2 separate regions of the Homo sapiens genome follow, and region 1 is linked to region 2. The links are contacts of gene promoters, found by promoter capture Hi-C in blood cells and fetal thymus (Javierre and others, 2016). All regions are on one chromosome and are shown on one strand. The core of a region is centred on a gene start or on the middle of the fragment in contact, and the rest is flanking DNA. Distances in the headings are between cores, read along the strand shown.

Region 1 (3,533 bases), core at 365-2,864, 290 kb before region 2:
TTTATGTTTTTTTTATTTTTTTATTTTTTGAGATAGGGTCTCACACTGTTGCCCAGGCTGGAGTACAGTGGCATAATCACGGCTCACTGCAGCCTTCAGCTCCCCAGGTTCAGTTAATCCTCCCACCTCAACCTCCTGAGTAGCAAAGACTACAGGCTCACACCACCACACCTGGTGAATTTTTGTATTTTTCTGTAGAGACAAGGTTTCACCATGTTGCTCAGGCTGGTCTTGAACTCCTGGACTCAAGGCCATTTAATGGCCTTTAAAAACATAAAGAAGGCTGAGCATGGTGGTGGCTCACGCCTGTAATCCCAACAGTTTGGGAGGCCGAGGCAGGTGGACCACCTGAGGTCAGGAGTTCTACACAAGCCTGGCCAACATGGTGAAAACCCGTCTCTACTAAAAAACTACAAACATTAGCTAGGTGTGGTGGTGGGCGCCTGTAATCCCAGCTTCTTGGGAGGCTGAGGCAGGAGAATTGCTTGAATCCAGGAGGCGGATGTTGCAGTGAGCCGAGATCGCCATTGCACTCCAGTCTGGGTGACAGAACAAAACTCTATCTCAAAAAAAAAAAAAAAAAGAAAAGAAAATACCGTACTATAAAGAGTGTAGGGATAAACTGGCACTTTTATATTTGTTGGTAGGAATAAAAATTAGTAAACACTTGTGGAGATCACTTTGGCATTATCTACCAAAATTTTATACTAGTACTTCTACTTCACATGTTCACAAAGATAATATAGATTATTCATTGCAGCACTGTTTTGCAATAGCAAAAAAGTAGAAACAGCTTGAATCCATATCCATCAATAGGAGACCAACCAAGTAAAATAATGTACACCATTATAATAGAACACTATTCAGGGTTGAGATATAGTCACATGTTGCTTAACAATGAGGATATCTTCTGTGAAATGTGTCATCAGGCAATGTCATCTTTGTGTGAACATCAGAGTGTACTTACACAAACCTGGATGGTATAGCCTACTGCACACCTAGCTGATACAGTATAACCTATGGCTTCTAGGCTGCAAACCTGTACAGCATGTTGCTATACTGAATACTGCAGGCAACTGTAACACAACGGTGAGTATCAGTGTATCTAAACATATCTAAACATTGAAAGGCTACAGTAAAAATGTGGTATTATAATCTTAAGGGAACACCATCACATGTGGTCCATTGTTAACCAAAATCTCCTTCTGGGGTGCATGACAGGATGTGCATTGAAATGGAATGATGTCCAATGTTGTCATGTTACATGGACTCAGTTGAGTGGAGAGCAGTCTATAGAGCATGGTACTGGTTGGGCGGTAGAGGAGAGACTGAGAGCACATCTACATCTGGACAGATGTTGGATATTTCCAAAAGGACACAAAAACCAGTGTTGGTGGTTACTTCTGCAGAGGAAAAATGGGTAGCTAGATGCAGAAGTAGGACTTAACTTGTTCCTTTTGAATTCTGTGCCATGTACATGTATAACCTATTTTTTAAAAGTAATTAAGCTTAAGGCTGGACATGGTGGCTCACGCCTATAATCCTAGCATTTTGGGAGGCCCAAGGTGGGTGGATCACTTAAGTTCAGGAGTTCGAGACCAACCTGGGCAATATGGCCAAACCCCATCTCTACAAAAAAACAAAAACAAAAACAAAAACAAAACTTGAGCTTAAAAACAAAATAAAGAAATACACAAATTACTAGGATGGGGAAGCTTTCCAAAGAGAAAAGAAGGATATGAAACTGAAACGAGAAAGAGAGGGGATATCAGCTTTATCAGTATTATTTTACTTCTTTTATTTTAATAAAATATGAAACAAAAAGAGAAACAGGAATACGGGTGTTACCGCGCCTGGCTGATCTAGACTTTTAAAAAGACTTTTTATTTGTGTGATTCTGATGACTAGTCAAGTTGAGTATCACTGTTCTAAGGCTGGTTTAATATTAGAAAATTCAATCAATGCAATTTACTACATTAACAGGTTAAAGGAGAAAAAAATCATATGATCATCTCAATGGATGCAAAAAAAAGTTGATAAAATTCAGCCGGGCGCAGTGGCTCACACCTGTAATCCTAGCACTTTGGGAGGCTGAGGCGGGCGGATCACACGGTCAGGAAATTGACCTGGCTAACACGGTGAAACCCCGTCTCTACTAAAAATACAAAAAATTAGCCGGGCGTGGTGGCATGCGCCTGTAGTCCCAGATACTTGGGAGGCTGAGGCAGGAGAATCGCTTGAACCCAGGAGGCAGAGGTTGCAGTGAGCTGAGATCGCATCACTGCACTCCAGCCTCGGTGACAGTGACACTTCGTCTCCAAAAAAAAAAGTTGATAAAATTCAACATCCATCTATGATCAAAAGAATAATTGGCAAATTTGAAATAAGAGACAACGTTCTTAATCTGATAAAATGTAATTAACTATAAAAAACCTATACCAAACATCAAATTTAATGGTGAAGGGTAGAAAAAGCTTTCTTTTTAGAATCCAGAAAAGTCAAGAATTAAGATGTTTTGTCTATTTAACAATGTACTGGAAGCCTTCAGTAAAGCAATAAGGATAAATAAAAGGTATAAGACTTGGAAAGAAAGAAACAAAACTCATTACTCACAAATTATATGACTATGTGTATAGAATAAATTTAGCAAGTTTACTGAATTCACAATCAATTTTATTTCTATATATCAGCAACAAAGTGAAATAAATGTTAAAGGCATCAATTTTATTTCTTTTTTTTTTTTTTTTTTGAGACGGTGTCTCACTGTATTGCCCAGGCTGGAGTGCAGTGGCACAATCTGGGCTCATTGCAAGCTCCGCCTCCCAGGTTCACGCCATTCTCCTGCCTCAGCCTCCTGAGTAGCTGGGACTACAGGCGCCCGCCACCATGCCCGACTAACTTTTTGTATTTTTAGTAGAGATGGAGTTTCACCATGTTAGCCAGGACGGTCTCAATCTCCTGACCTCGTGATCCCCCTGCCTTGGCCTCCCGAAGTGCTGGGATTACAGGTGTGAGCCACCGTGCCCAGCCAGTTTTATTTCTATATGTCAGCAACAAACAAAGTGAAATAAATGTTAAAGGCATCATTTACAACAGCATCAAAAATATCAAGTACCTAGGAATGTCTAACAAATAATAAGTATTTAAATCTGTGCAGAATATTGAGAAAATGAAAGATCTAAATAGAAATATATAAATGTTCAATGTTTGGAAGACTCAGTATTGTAAAGATGTCTCTTTTTTTTTCCAAGTTAATCTATATAGTCAATGCAATCCCAATAAAAAATCACCAAGTATTTTTATATTAAAACACAAAGGAGCATTTTGGGAGGCCAAGGCAGGAGGATCACTTGAGCCCAGGAGTTCAAGACCAGCCGGGACAATAGGGTCAAACCCTGTCTCTATTAAAACACACACACACACACACACACACACACAATCAAGAATAGCTCAGACTCTCTACTAGATAGTGATATTCTGTAAGTAACATTCTTACCCTATGGTTCACAAAGGATTCTTGGAAAAATTCAGAG
Region 2 (3,437 bases), core at 738-3,237:
GTCCCTGGAAGCCCCTTCAAAGTCAAGGTCCCTTGAGTCCCAAAAGTGCCTCCCCAGCCTCAGCCCCCACCTCCAGCCAAACACACATTACATACACACACACACACACACAAATGTGCCACACCCAGACACACACACACAGAATCAGACACTACAAACACCTGCCTTGGGGGTGAAGTGAAGGCCCAGCCTCCCCACCCCACCGCACCCCAGGGGTTGGAGGACCTTTTCTGTGTCAGGACAGTGTCCCTCCCTGGGAATGTGATATGAGGGCCGACTGGGGCCAGGCTCAGTGGCAGAGGCTAAGACACAAGGGACTGGAAGGGGACTGTGGGGCGAGGGAAGCCCTGTGCATCCTCCCAGTGTGGTTTAGAGCTGCTCACCCTGATTCTCTCTGATTCTTTCTGTAAAATGGGGATGGAGGTGCCCCCATTCTTCATAAGGGAAGTAAAAATTGCTCATACCTCTGTGCCAAGCACCATGCATTACTAATCCTTACAAACACTCCATGAGGTGGGTGCTGTTAGAGCTCCAGTCACAGTTCAGAAAAATCAGCCACCAAAAGTGAAGTGACCAGCCAGAGGCCCCAGAGCAGAAAGCAAGAGCTCCAGGATGCGCCCTGGCAACCCTGCCAGAATCTGTGCTCTGAACCGTCCCACTACCCAGCCCCTCAGAGGACTTGCTTTCCAGAGGCACCCGGTCAATGAAAGCCACCTTCCTTAAACCTGCCAGGAATAGTGCTGCCGCTTCCTTGTTCCTCTTCTGGCTGGCTGGCCCTGGCTTTCCTCTGTGACCTCAGCTCCAGGCACTGAGGCCAGGTCTTAGCGTGGCATTGCAGCCTCCCTGCCCCCTGTGGCAAAGGCTCAGGTCCACTATGGGCCCAGACTCTGGGGCAGAGAAGCTGCCGTCTCCTTACTGAAGCTTTAAGCTTGGTGGAGAGTGGGCTGGGGAGACCTCAGTCCCTGCCTGGTCTAGGGGGAGGGGTGGCTTCCGACTTCTGGTCTTTATGACAGGGAGGGAGAGCTTTGGAAGGGTTCACAGCTCCGCCCTCAATGTTCCTTTTTGCCTGTGAGCTTCGCCTGTGAGACCCAACCCTCTGCTTCCCAGCTTCAAGGAGGAGTTTCCCAGCCTGTGGGCCCACAGGGACGGCTGTCCTCACTTCCTCCCTTTGGCCCCCTCTGCCTGCTGAGCCCAGGGCCCAGCCCTGCCCCCTACCCAGGCTCACCCCACAGCCAGGCCTGAGCTCAGGAGTGGGAAATGGGGCTGAGACCAGCCAGTGAAGGGCGGCCTTGGCATTTGGGGCCAAGCCTGGGACTGCTGGGGTGGGTAGGGGTGTTGAGTGGAGTTCAGGAAAGAAACTTATAGGGGAGAGAGGAAAACACTGGTCGTGTCCATGATTTCAGAGATCAGGAGTTCTTATTATTATTATTTGTTATTTACTGAGCATTTACCATCTCTCTACCGACTCTAAATTCTTTACTTATATAATCTCACTTAATGCTCACTGCAAGTCTATAAAGTAGATGTGGTGATCCCCAGTTTACAGATAGGGAAATTGAGGCACAGAGAAGTTAGTGGTCTAAGGCCACATGGAATTGGCTGAGCAGGGATCTAAACCCAGCTCAGTCTGCTTCTTCTGTAAACTTGTGAGAGAGAGGAAAAATCGATCTGGAAACCCTAGGGCGATGGAGTAACCTAAAAGGGCAGGGAGACTCTCTAGGATCCCGAGAGGGGTGGACTTGGGTTTATTTTCTTTTCAGGGTCTCCTCCTGGATCTTAAGCGGAGACAAGGCCTACACCCCCGTTGGGCTTCCTGCGAGCTGGAGCTGCTCTCTGGGGTCAGGACCGGCCGGGCCCGGGGCGGGTGGAGGTGTGCATGGGAAAGGCGCGCGCGGTGGGGGGTTTGAGCCCTCCCTGAACAAAGCCTGGGTGGGAGCGGCCTGTGTGTCCCCACCCCGCCTTCCCCAGCGCCTGCTGAGCCGCGACGACAGACGGCGAGCCGAGCGAGGCGGAGCTAGCATGGCCGGGGTCGGGGCCGCTGCGCTGTCCCTTCTCCTGCACCTCGGGGCCCTGGCGCTGGCCGCGGGCGCGGAAGGTGAGTCCAGGTGCGGGAGGCTTGGGGTCCGGCCAGGTGCGCCCCCTCCCTCCTATCAGCCCGGCCTGAGGGGGCCGAGAGGGGCTGGGGGCTCTGCTCTTAGCCCTGCCTGAGGTTCGCGCGCCTCCCTGGCCAGCTCCGTCCTCCCCGTCGGGGGAGCGAGCAGGGTGGGGAAGACCACGGCCAAAGCAGGGGGTTCAGGAGAGGGGGGCGGTTCCTGCAGCCGGCGGCGGGAGAGAGTGCGGCTGCCCTGGCATCTGGGAGTCTGAAGTTAATTATTTGTCTTGACGAAGGAGGGGGAGAAAAGGGGCCCGCTGTGGAAGCTGACTTTGCATCTGTGTCTGGCCCTCCCCGGAGCAGGACAGGCGGGAATGGAGGGCTCGGTGCCGGCACGGGGCCAGGGGAGGCTAAGAGGGGAACCCGGGACAATTCCTTGGGGACCAGCCAAGTTTGTGCCACTCGGAGCTCTTTCTGCAGGTCTCTCCAGGCGAGGCTGGCCCTAGCTTCACCTAGGGGTCCCAGAGGATTCAGCTTCTCCCGGGCTCCCATATCCTGCCTGCCTACTTAAGCAGAACTGGAGGAGTGGCCTGGGAGGAGGGGCCCTGGGCAGCAGGATGAGGCCCCACGGGAGTCTAGATTGGGTAGAAGGTTTCAGATGCTGAGACGCCCATCGTGGCCGCCCTCTGTGTGCTTGGGAAGGACTGAGACCGGGTGCCATTCCGGGTGACAGGATCCCCAGTAGAGGGACGGAGATGGGAAAGGGCACCTGGGGTTTGAGGGCCAGTATTCGCCCAGGGTGCGGGAACTGAGTTAGAATCCCTGATATAAGCCAGAAGTAGCGGGGCTGGAAAGGTGGGCGGTGCTTGTGATCCATCCCAGCGGGACTTGCTCCTGGGAGACTTCGGCTGTGTGATTCAGAAAGGTCGAGTGGAGAGAAGGGGCACAGATGGAGGCAGGGACGCTTTGTCTTCAGCCTTCTGAATGGAGATGGTGGAGAGAGGAGAAGGGGGGGATGTATTAGGGGACAACTCAGGCAACAAAATAGGGGAGCTGAGCCCCAGCTTTCTGGCTTAAGTAACTGGGTATGTGTGATGGCATTAACCAAGCCAGGGAACTTGGGACAAAGCAAGTTCAATTTTAGCCTAGAATCCCCTCTGCCTTTGATGGTGACAGTGGGTGACATTGTTCCCCTGTCTCACAGGCCTAGTGTCTGTGAGAAACCCTTTTAAGCCACTCCAGGCCTGGCCTCACTAATGAGCTGCCATGGTGGGAAAGACCCATCCCTCTCCCTCCTCCTCTCTCTGTTCCTATTGCCTCCGCTCCAGACCCTCAACTTCCCTGC

Evidence for each region. The method cuts DNA at HindIII sites, captures the fragments that hold promoters and counts their contacts. A CHiCAGO score of 5 or more calls a contact.
Region 1: a fragment that was not itself captured here is called in contact with the fragment with the promoter of KCP in region 2 in 1 of 17 cell types (total B cells); the score reaches 7.9 in total B cells.

What each region holds. Positions count from the first base shown.
Region 1 is chr7:129,196,233-129,199,765 of GRCh38, reverse strand. The region is part of intron 1 of SMO (smoothened, frizzled class receptor); the gene reads right to left. Among named protein-coding and RNA genes, the nearest start is that of SMO, 9.4 kb to the right of the region's middle. The HindIII fragment of the contact is 207 bases long and covers 1,511-1,717 here.
Region 2 is chr7:128,909,259-128,912,695 of GRCh38, reverse strand. It overlaps KCP (kielin cysteine rich BMP regulator), which reads left to right and starts at 1,987. Exons shown (of 40, transcript NM_001366122.1): 1 at 1,987-2,095. The coding sequence starts at 2,020. It also overlaps the pseudogene LOC392787. The HindIII fragment of the contact is 11,148 bases long and covers 931-3,437 here.